3 separate regions of the Homo sapiens genome follow, and regions 1 and 2 are each linked to region 3. The links are contacts of gene promoters, found by promoter capture Hi-C in blood cells and fetal thymus (Javierre and others, 2016). All regions are on one chromosome and are shown on one strand. The core of a region is centred on a gene start or on the middle of the fragment in contact, and the rest is flanking DNA. Distances in the headings are between cores, read along the strand shown.

The links. The method cuts DNA at HindIII sites, captures the fragments that hold promoters and counts their contacts. A CHiCAGO score of 5 or more calls a contact.
Region 1: a contact is called between the fragment with the promoter of NCKAP1L here and a fragment that was not itself captured in region 3, in 2 of 17 cell types (M2 macrophages and M1 macrophages). The highest score is 7.4, in M2 macrophages.
Region 2: a contact is called between the fragment with the promoter of GTSF1 here and a fragment that was not itself captured in region 3, in 1 of 17 cell types (M2 macrophages). The highest score is 6.8, in M2 macrophages.

Annotation. Positions count from the first base shown.
Region 1 is chr12:54,496,300-54,499,658 of GRCh38, forward strand. It overlaps NCKAP1L (NCK associated protein 1 like), which reads left to right and starts at 1,453. Exons shown (of 31, transcript NM_005337.5): 1 at 1,453-1,592; 2 at 3,056-3,166. The coding sequence starts at 1,491. RefSeq lists enhancers at 1,415-1,474, 1,585-1,644. The HindIII fragment of the contact is 9,210 bases long and covers 1-3,359 here.
Region 2 is chr12:54,471,797-54,475,112 of GRCh38, forward strand. It overlaps GTSF1 (gametocyte specific factor 1), which reads right to left and starts at 1,806. Exons shown (of 9, transcript NM_144594.3): 1 at 1,750-1,806. RefSeq lists enhancers at 1,883-2,409, 2,075-2,134. The HindIII fragment of the contact is 3,434 bases long and covers 561-3,316 here.
Region 3 is chr12:54,401,929-54,405,426 of GRCh38, forward strand. It overlaps ITGA5 (integrin subunit alpha 5), which reads right to left. Exons shown (of 30, transcript NM_002205.5): 12 at 3,238-3,446; 13 at 2,775-2,966; 14 at 2,502-2,547; 15 at 2,217-2,318; 16 at 1,983-2,038; 17 at 1,697-1,851; 18 at 1,259-1,396; 19 at 1,055-1,122; 20 at 252-402; 21 at 73-165. The region is part of intron 1 of GPR84-AS1 (GPR84, ZNF385A, ITGA5 and GTSF1 antisense RNA 1); the gene reads left to right. Among named protein-coding and RNA genes, the nearest start is that of ITGA5, 16 kb to the right of the region's middle. The HindIII fragment of the contact is 8,596 bases long and covers 1-3,498 here.

The DNA.
Region 1 (3,359 bases), core at 203-2,702, 94 kb after region 3:
AAACCTCCTACAACAGTGCTTATATAAGTACAGACTTCTAGGCCCCACAACAGACTCGCCTACCTACCAATGCTAATCTCAGAGGACAGGGATTGATCTGTTTCTCAAGCATCCATAAATACCATGGTACTAGAGCACTGGTTCTCAAACTTGAGTGTGCATTGGAATCACCTGGAGGGTTTGTTAAAACACAGAGTGCCTGGACCCACCCCAGAATTTTGGATTCAGTGGTCTGGGGCGGGTCCTAAGAATTTGCATCTCTAACAAGTTTCCAGGTGATGCTGATGCTGCTGGATCACATTTTGAGAATTACTATGTACTTCTTGAGAACTACTTTGAGAATTATTATGTACTGTAGAAGTACAATGCACTGTAGTAGAGCATTGTGAGAAATATAAAAAAGTATTAGAGGCCGGGTGTGGTGGCTCATGCCTGTAATTCCAGTACTTTGGGAGGCTGTGGCGGGTAAATCACCTGAGGTCAGGAGTTCGAGAGCAGCCTGGCCAACACGGTGAAACCCCATGTCTACTAAAAATACAAAAATTAGCAAGGCGTGGTGGTGGGCACCTGTAACCACAGCTACTCCAGAGGCTGAGGCTGGAGAATTGCTTGAGCCCAGGAGGTGGAGGTTGTAGTGAGCAGAGATCATGCCATTGCACTCCAGCCTGGGCAACAAGAGTGGAACTCTGTTTCAAAAAAAAAAAAAAAAAGAAAAAAAAGTATTAGGTACAATTCCTGTCATTAAGGAGCTTATGCTGTAGTTGGGGGAGATACAACGTACACTATAAACATATAACAAGGAATATATGTATTTGACAATATAAAATATAATACAATATAATATTTGACATTGATGGGGTCTTTAGGAGAAGATGGGATTTGATCTGGGTACTAAAACATGATGAGGCCAAAGGTTCATAGGCATTCTTGGATATAAAAGAAGGAAAATATAGAGGTGTACAGGGGTGGGGTGGTAGATACTTGTTTATCTAGCTTACAGCTTTTAATTTTTATTTTTTATAGAGATGGGGTCTTGCTATGTTGCCCAGGCTGGTCTGGAACTCCTGAGCTCAATGGATCTTCCCACCTTTTCCTCCCAAAGTGCTGGGATTACAGGTGTGAGCCACCACGCCCAGCTTTGTCTAGGACACTTATGGGGGCATAAGACCAAAAAGGTTGGTGCAGTCTGTGAAGAGCCTTGAAAGCCTGTCCTTCTCCTCAGCTCCACCCACTTCATAGCCTTACCAAAAGTGCTGCACAGCCAGAAAGAGGAAGTCTCCCCTGCTGAGTGTGCAAGAGGAAGCACAAGAAGGCTCTGAGGGCCTGTGAGCCATAATGACTGATTTCACCCATGAGCCAATTGCAGAGGCAACAGAAGACCAGTGCACCAACCAGGCTGGGTCCCTCCGCCAGAGGGTGTCACCATCTAAGCTGAAAGTGTTTGGGGAGATCAGACATTGCTGTCTGGTGCTCCTCTCTCAGTGGCCATCATGTCTTTGACATCTGCTTACCAGCATAAATTAGCAGAGAAGCTCACTATCCTGAATGATCGCGGTCAGGGGGTTCTCATCCGTATGTATAACATCAAGAAGGTAAGCATGAACAATGGGACTAGTACTGATTATTCCAACAATAATAGGGCAGGGAACCCTGAGGCGGCAGGTGCAGCAGTTAGACTCCCACCTTTTTTTCCACTGCTTTTCCACTGACTATAATCTACATAATCACTCAGATTATACAGGCCAGCCAGTTCAGGAAGGCAGAAGTGGAGGCTTCTTTTCAAGGCTTCCCCTTTCTAGATATGATTCTTGCCCCAACGATGGCATCTGCTTTCCTCTGGGGATGGGGGTGAGGGTGGGGATGGGGAAACAACAGTGGTATTCCAAGTGACTTGGATAAAGGTCTGGGGTCCAACCTTCTGGGTTTTATTATTTATTGTTGATCCTCTACACTCTGAAGAGATCTGAAGCTGGGTCTCTGGCAAAAACTTTTCTGTGGAAGTGCTTCCCTAAAAGGAAAAAAAATAGATAATTAGGTATTTAGATTAAAAAGGGTAGGTGTCTTCTGAGCTGCTCCTGGGGTAGTTCATGCTGTGGTGGTTGTGTGTGTGTGTGTGTGTGTGTGTGTGTGTGTGTTTAGAATAGGAACTGAGGAATTGAAAGAAGCTAGTGACAAGAGGTGGGCTAGGGGCTGGGCAAACCATAGGAAGTAAAGAGATAAAGACAGGGGTGTTTATGGGGAGTTCCTGGCATAGAAAATAGGGGACTTTGGGGGAGGGAGCTTTTGTGTTTTTTGTAATAAAACAAATCACCAGGAACACGGTTTCTCTGTCACCATGAATCCTGTAAATGCCCTTTGGGATAAGATACTTACATAGTGAACAAAATTGTGACACTGAATCTTGTACAAAGTCTAACTCCTGAGCAGCTGCTTTTCTTGTTCCTTCCGGCTTCAGTTGAGGGGCGGGGAAACAGCTTCCTCTTTGTGCTGGGGCCAAGCAGGCATTAAACTCTACCCATCAAGACAAAATGCCTAGGTTGTTATTTCGCTCTTAGATACTTGGCTTAATGTCTTGGAATTTTTTCTTGACCTACTCTTATGCTTTTTATTTTTATATTTATTTATTTATTTATTTATTTATTTATTTTCGGAGTCTCGCTCTGTCGCCCAGGCTGGAGTGCAGTGGCACGATCTTGGCTCACTGCAACCTCCGCCTCCCGGGTTCAAGCGATTCTCCTGCCTCAGCCTCCCAAGTACCTGGGACTACAGTTGTGCACCACCATGCCCAGCTAATTTTTGTATTTTTAGTAGAGACGGGGTTTCACCATGTTGGCCAGGCTGGTCTCGAACTTCTGACCTTGTGATCTGCCTGCCTCGGCCTCCCGAAGTGCTGGGATTACAGGTGTGAGCCGCTGCGCCCAGCCTCTCATGCTTTTTAAATTAGTTCCCAGGTTGCCTTTTCCTAAGACAGATTATGAGAATGAATGTTGCAAGAAGAGGTATGTTTCTGAGGAGGAGGAGAAAGGGTTGAAATATATATGGTTTCTCTCTGCAGACTTGTTCAGACCCCAAATCTAAGCCACCTTTCTTACTGGAAAAGTCCATGGAACCATCTCTCAAGTATATCAACAAGAAATTTCCCAACATAGATGTCCGAAACAGCACGGTGAGAACTTGGTCCTTCTCTCCTTTCTCTGAATAATTCTCTGCTTGAATGGCTGAAATTCTCCTCTTTTGATGCCTCTCTTCAAACTTGGCAGGGGATGGAGTAGTCTTTTTTTATTAATAGTTTTCCAAGGCTCAACCACAGGGCTTCAGGTTGTTGTAGAGCTTTAAGTCTTGAGCATTTTGAGATAAGA
Region 2 (3,316 bases), core at 556-3,055, 70 kb after region 3:
ATCACTTGAAGCCAGGAGTTTGAGACTAGCCTGGCAACAAAGCAAGACTACGTCTCTACAAAAAACAAAACAACCCCCCCCCAAAAACAAACAAACAAACAAACAAAAAAACAAACTTAGCCAGGCATGGGGGCTCATGCCTGTAGTCCCAGCTACTCAGGAGGCAAAGGCAGGCAGATCACTTAAGTCCAGGAGCTATGAGGTTCGTGCCATTGCACTTGGCCTGGACAATGGAGTGAGATCCTGTCTTTAAAAAAACAAAAAACCCCTTATACATAAACACAGAAATAATGTTCTATTATAAAGCTTTCCTCCTGGGTTCTTAAAAATACAGATAGGCAGGTTACCAGTCTTGTTCCTCTCTAGGACCTGGAAATGCTGGAAGTCTTTGACAGACAGTATACACTCAACCCTTCCAATATGCTTGGAAACACTAGTTCACCATTTTCATGACTTTTCTTAAACATGATCAGGAAGGGCCACACTAACATTGTCCCTTTTTCTAGTGAGGTTTCACCTCCTCTCATCCCAATCTTCAGTGCTAAAGTGGCAATACTTTAAGCTTCTCCAATTAATACTCATTCCCTCTATGCACTAAGGGAAAACCTCTCAATGTTAGGACTCAAGAACTGTCCATATTATGGATAACAGAGTCACAAGAGAACAAATCTGTAACAGGAATGTGAAACATTAAAAGAGAAATGGTTTCACAGTTTGAATCCTTTTCTATTAGAAATCTCTTCTATTGAGCACTGAGACTAAATACATTTATTATTGTGGGAAAAACCTGAATTTATATAAAACCATCCCCATACGAAACTTCTGAAAATTGTCTGTCTCTAGAGCATGCTCTCCTTTGGCCCCTCACACAATTCTACACTCCTCACCACCCCTCCCCCCATTCTGTGACATAAGCAGCGTTAGAACCTATGATAGGAAATACAAGTGATCAGCTAGAACTCTAGTTTTTTTGCTACTGAGCCCATTTGTTAATGACAATCATTAGTGAATTTGTCTTAAAAATATTTTTCATATTTATGTTTGGATCAAGAAATCCCCACCGTCTTTTTGTATATATTTCACTTATACATAGTTACTTCATACTTTTTCATTAAAAATAAGAGTTTTGGAAGGAAGAACCAAGTATGTTTCTTGATTTTAAGTGATGAGCACCAGATTCAGCAGCTTGTAGGAAGCCAACCTATTCTTCCCGGACAAAAGGACGAATTACAGTACACTAGGGGCACTGGAATTCACAGTACCATCACTTAGCCGTGTCTGTTTTAAGTATCTTCCGCATCAAACTGTTAACGGGATTCTTTACCTTTTCCCTACTACTAGATCACGGTGAAATAGACAAGCTACGCCGGAAGCAATCAAGTTTAGGGTATGGATGTAGTCGGCGGCTACTGGTTAAACGCTTAACAGAATTCCGGCCTTAGTAAAAGAATCATTTTTCTTCCTTTAAACAACAACAACAACAACAAAATCACAGTAGACTTAATCAATGAGACTAAATAAGAGAAAGTGGGGGAGGTGGTTAACTTAAAAAAAACATAGAAAAGGCGCCAAGGAGGCCCTCGAGTGGGCAATGCAGCGAAACAGGTTGGTAGCCAAAATAGCTGCATTGAGAGCCCACAAGGCTGAAGGCTACCAGCAGAAAAGCGAAATGAGGATATTAGAAGGTGAAGGTATCCCGGTACGCAAAATAGGAATTGCTTAGAGGCGCCCCGGGGTGCCTTTCCTTACCTCGGTGGACACACACCTTCCTCACAGTCACCTTCCTCCCACGCAAGCCCCAGCAACGGCCACTTCCGGCGCCTAACGTTGGGAGGTGGGGCGAGGGGCCGGCACTTCCTGTGACTGGGAGTCTCGGTTCTGGCTGAGTGTGGGGCAGGGTGGATCAGCTGTGGAGTTCACCTGTGAGCCCCTAGGGTCAGCTCCCTGATGACCCTTTCCCACGAGGATCTCCTCCTTGGGCACCCCATCTTTGGGGCCATCCTCCCCTGGCCCCCAGAACAACAGTGGCCTTGAGAGGGTAGAACTCGCATTTCTTTCCCTGGGTTTTGTGGCGGCCATCTTAGAAAAGGCAGATGAGCACTTAGAAATGGGCACCTGCGATTACCTCAGGAGTTCAAGACCAGCCTGGCCAACATGGTGAAACCTCGTCTCTACTAAAAATACAAAAATTAGCTGGGTGTGGTGGCGGGCGCCTGTAATCCCAGCTACTTGGGAGGCTGAGGCAGGAGAATTGCTTGAACCCGGGAGGCGGAGGCTGCAGTGAGCCGAGATTGCACCACTGCACTCCAGCCTGGGCGGCAGAGTGAGACTCCGTCTCAGGAAAAAAAAAAAAAAAAAAAAAAAAATGGCGCCTGAGGGAATGGGACTGATGGAACTGGTTAGAGGTGGGGAGCTGCCTAGAAAGAAGCCTTGTTTGTGGAAGTTGTCTAGATAGAAAGGTAATTTAGATTTTGAGGGAAGAGAAGAGGAATTATAAAGGAGATACGCAGTGCAGCCACAAAACAATCACCAAGGACAGGAATTTTGTGTCTGGCTGTTCTTGTTTAGAATGTGTTGTAAAATCCCAAAATTCAAAAGGCACTAACTATCTGAGAATGCTTGGTAGGATGATGGTTGTTGCTGCCTGATGAAAGCGAGTTTTAGAGTTGGGGAGAGAGCTCAATGAAGAGTTGGAGAGGACAAGAAGGCCGGAAGGTTACAACTTGTTAAGGGAAAACCAAACGTAGTGTGAGGCTTTGTTCTGGGGAAAAAAAGTGTAAGCTGCAGTTCTTGTCCCCAGAGTGCTTAGAAAAACGACTCCCAAAGTGGATGAAAGGTTTAATAGCAGTACAAAAAATGCCAAAAAAAGTGGTAGAGACTGTAAATTCCTGTAAGGAAAAAAATTAATGGGGCCTGAAATGACCTGGGAAGGCATTATAGAGAAAAGGGACTTGTAGCCTTTGAAGGTTAGACAAAAAAAGGAAGGTGTTGACACTACAAGTAGATCTGGTGGTAATATTTTTCAAAACCAAGAAGTAAAAGATATGACAAAACATTCTGTGCTGTTCAAGATGTAGGAGGCAGTCTGGGTGATTAGTCTGGGCAGTGAAATATTGGGATTTCTACAGCATTTCAGTGGTGTAGAGCCCAAATAGGACTTGAGAGGACTACCCTGACAAAAACTGAATGTAGCTTTAGTAAAAAGGATCAGTGGGGCATTTTCTTTTTCTTCTTTTTTTTTTTTGAGATGGAGTCTCGCTCTGTCGCCCATGCAGGAGAGCAGTGGCATGATCTCGGCTCACTGCAACCTCCGCCT
Region 3 (3,498 bases), core at 892-3,391:
GCTCTCGGCTGGCTGGTTACCGCCCTCAGGTCTGCTCTCCCTCTGTCCCATCCTCTTTCATCCCAAACTTACACTGGCTCCTGCCTTCATGGGGTTGCCCAGGTCACACACCAGCAGGCGGCTCTGGTTCACGGCAAAGTAGTCACAGCTCAGGCTGGAGAAGTTCTGGAGATGGGGTGGGCACTGGTCAGGTTTTGGTGTCCCCTCTAGAGGGGTATCCTCCCAAATCCCACTCGAGAGTCTCATCTCACCCCTGGGTGTCTGACGAGTCCTGAGTACTCAGCCTCTGGAGGGGCGGTGACCCGAAGCTCAGCCTCATAGGCGCCACCCTCACCCACATTCTGGGCATGGAAAGTGAGGTTCAGGGCATTCTTGTCACCCAGGTACACATGGTTCTGCTCCCTGGAAGGGACACAGAGGGTAAGGGACATTGGTGAATTAATCCTCAAACCAGGACAAAGGACCATTATAAGAGTAGTAATACGAGGCCGGGTGTGGTGGCTCACACCTGTAATCCCAGCACTTTGGGAGGCTGAGGCGGGTGGATCACGAGGTCAGGAGTTCAAGACAAGCCTGGCCAAGATGATGAAACCCTGTCTCTACTAAAAATAATAATAAAAAAATTAGCCCGGCATGGTGGCAGGCACCTGTAATCCCAGCTACTTGGGACGCTGAGGCAGAGAATCGCTTGAACCTGGGAGGCGGAGGTTGCAGTGAGCCGAGATTGCGCCACTGCACTCCAGCCTGGGTGACAAGGGCATGACTCCGTCTCAAAAAAAAAAAAAGAGTAATAATAAAGTAACAATAGACACTGCTTACTGAGTTCTAACTCTATGGCAGGCACTAGGCTAGATTTTTTATGTAGATTATTTCATTTAATCTTTCCAAAAAGTCTGAGAAATAAATGCTACTATTCCCACTATACAGACAAAGGAGTTAAAGCTCAGAGCAGCTCAGCAACTTCCCAAGGCGACACAGCTAGTATGTCCCTAGCTGATTTTTTCAGGTGCCAGGTGCACCTGGAGCTCCCTAGCTTACCGTCAGCCCTACTTACCCAAACACTTCCAGCTGCAGGTCAGGCACACAGATGTTGTCTTCTCCACAGTCCAGCAAGATCTGAGCCTGGGGAGCAGGGCAGCCTTGAGAGGGGAAGTTTAGACCCATTCCTGGGCTGTAGGCTCTTCTCTTTCCATGGCCCTGCCCCCCCAATACCCAGGCCTCTGTCTTCCCAGGTCCCTTCTCCCTGCCCTGTCCTCACCTTGTCCTCTATCCGGCTCTTGCTCTGATAATGTAGGGCTGGCCTGAGGCCGTGGCTGTCCACTGGGGCTTGGGGGTCCAAGGAGAAGTTGAGAGCGATGTGAATCGGCGAGAGTTTGTCTCGAAATTCTGACTCGTTCTGGGGCCAGAGGAGAGAGTTCACGGAGTCAGGGGACTCTGGAGACTTAGTGGCCCTGCTCCTCAGCCTCTCTCATCTCCCTTTGTCTGCTTAGGGCCCAATTCCGACCATCCTCATTGTTTCAGAGGCCCTGGCAGCCTGCTTCCCAGCTCCTCTGACAGAAGGTCTCCCTTTCTCAGCCCCTACAAGAGTCCCAAGCCCTTCACTGGAGTCCCCCAGTCTTTTTCCCTTCAGGAGGTGCCCTCAGTTCTGTGTGGCCACCCTCCCTGGCCAGTCCACACCCCGCCCTCTGGGCCATACCCTGAGGTAGATCTTCATCTCTCTGCAATCCTCTCGAGCCCCATTCTGGATGAGCAGGGTCTGGGTCAGGGTTGCCTGCCTGGAGGCCAGGAACAGTGCCCGCCGTACCCCTCCCTTCTGCTTCTGCCAGTCCAGCTGAAGTTCCACTGTGAAACCTGAAGCCAGGGACATATAAAGGGAAACTGCCTGTCTTTCCTCATCTTTTCAGAGAGAAGAAATGTCCCCAGGTCCCCAGTCCCTTCATTCTCTGTCCTAGGGCCTGAGAGATCCAGGCAGTCTCCCTCACCAATGGAGTCAGCAACGTGTTTTCCAGAAGCATTGAGGCAGAAGCTAAGGTTGATGCTGGAGAGAGACCAAGAAGAAAGCTGGTGAATCCAACTGGAACAGACATCCTATCCTCTACCTATCTCCCAGCCAGACCCAGACTAGGACACCACCATTTTCCCCTTTTTAAGGCAGACTTGGTGCCCCTGCCCACTCCCAGGCTCAGGTCTCTGCAATTTCCTGGGCACCAGCTCACCAGGCCACAGGGTTCCCCTCTAAGCTGCAGCTCCGCTCCTCTGGGTTGAACATGGCGGGGAAGATGGTGAGGGAGGCACTAGCGGACACGATGGGGCGGCCCCTGCCAAGAGTGAATGTGGGGTCAATAGAATTAGGACTCCTCTGTAACCTGGACACAGGAAACTGATGCCCAAGCGCCAGAATGTGTGTCCTCTGCATTGATTTTCCCAACCTCAGCTCTGTTGAGAAATTTCCAGTTCCAGTCCACCCAGGTTGTCCCCTCATCTCCCTTTGGAGCTCATACCTGTATACCACAGCCTTGTCCACACCAAAGGACCCCACAATCAGATCTGTAAGAAGTCAAGAAATCACCTCTTACAGCAAGCCCCAGATCAGGATCCTTTCTTCCTAACCCCTCCTGGTTTCAACGCTCAGGGAGGTTGAAGTGAGAAGACAGCGCCCTCTGTTGGAATTAGCCAGAACTGCACCCAGGAACTTAAGGAAAGGTGCAGAAGAGAGAGTAGGGGTCAGTGACCAGGGAATTTTAAGGTGAAAAGGGGCCTCAGGCACAACTCACCAGGATATCCATTGCCATCCAGGTCTCGGCCTCCTCGAAGGGCAGAGCCAAAGAAGTCTGGGGTGTGGCTGGCTGCCCACAGGGGCTGCAGAACCTGGGAAGGCTTAGAGCCCAGCCCTCCTGGGCCCCCAGGAAATACAAACACTACTCCCTGCTGGGTCTCCCCACCAAAGGGAGCCCCGATGGCCACATCTGGAAGACACAGAACACACACTAGTCAGCAGGCCAGGAATCCATGGGCTCTAATCTCTACTACCAGACCCCAGGACCTAGGATCCTATTTTTTCCCATCTGTCAGTCCCTATATTCTAATCTTCAAATCCCAAGACCCAGACAGTGGGATTTTAACCCCTCGGGAAGTCGTGGAGGTCTGGGTATCTTAGCTGACAGATGCCCTCTCCCCAAATCCCTTCTGACTTGGGCCCCTGCCTCCTCTTTCACTCTCTGAGCCCATGGTACTCACCATTGTAGCCATCCTGGTCCAGGTCCCCCAGGGGGGTCAAGGAGCTGCCAAATCGGCCAAACTCATCATGGCCAGTGAGGGTAAGGGTGGGCGTGGGCTCTATGCCGGCTGGGTGCTGCAGGTAGACGTAGACCCTGCCCACCTCCTGAGGCCGCCCGTCAGGGGTCCGATCCATGAGCAGGGGTGCCCCCACCAGCAAGTCATCCAGCCTGAGGGGAAGGGCAAACCCAGGCATCTCGATACCCTGTCTTGCCACCCCAC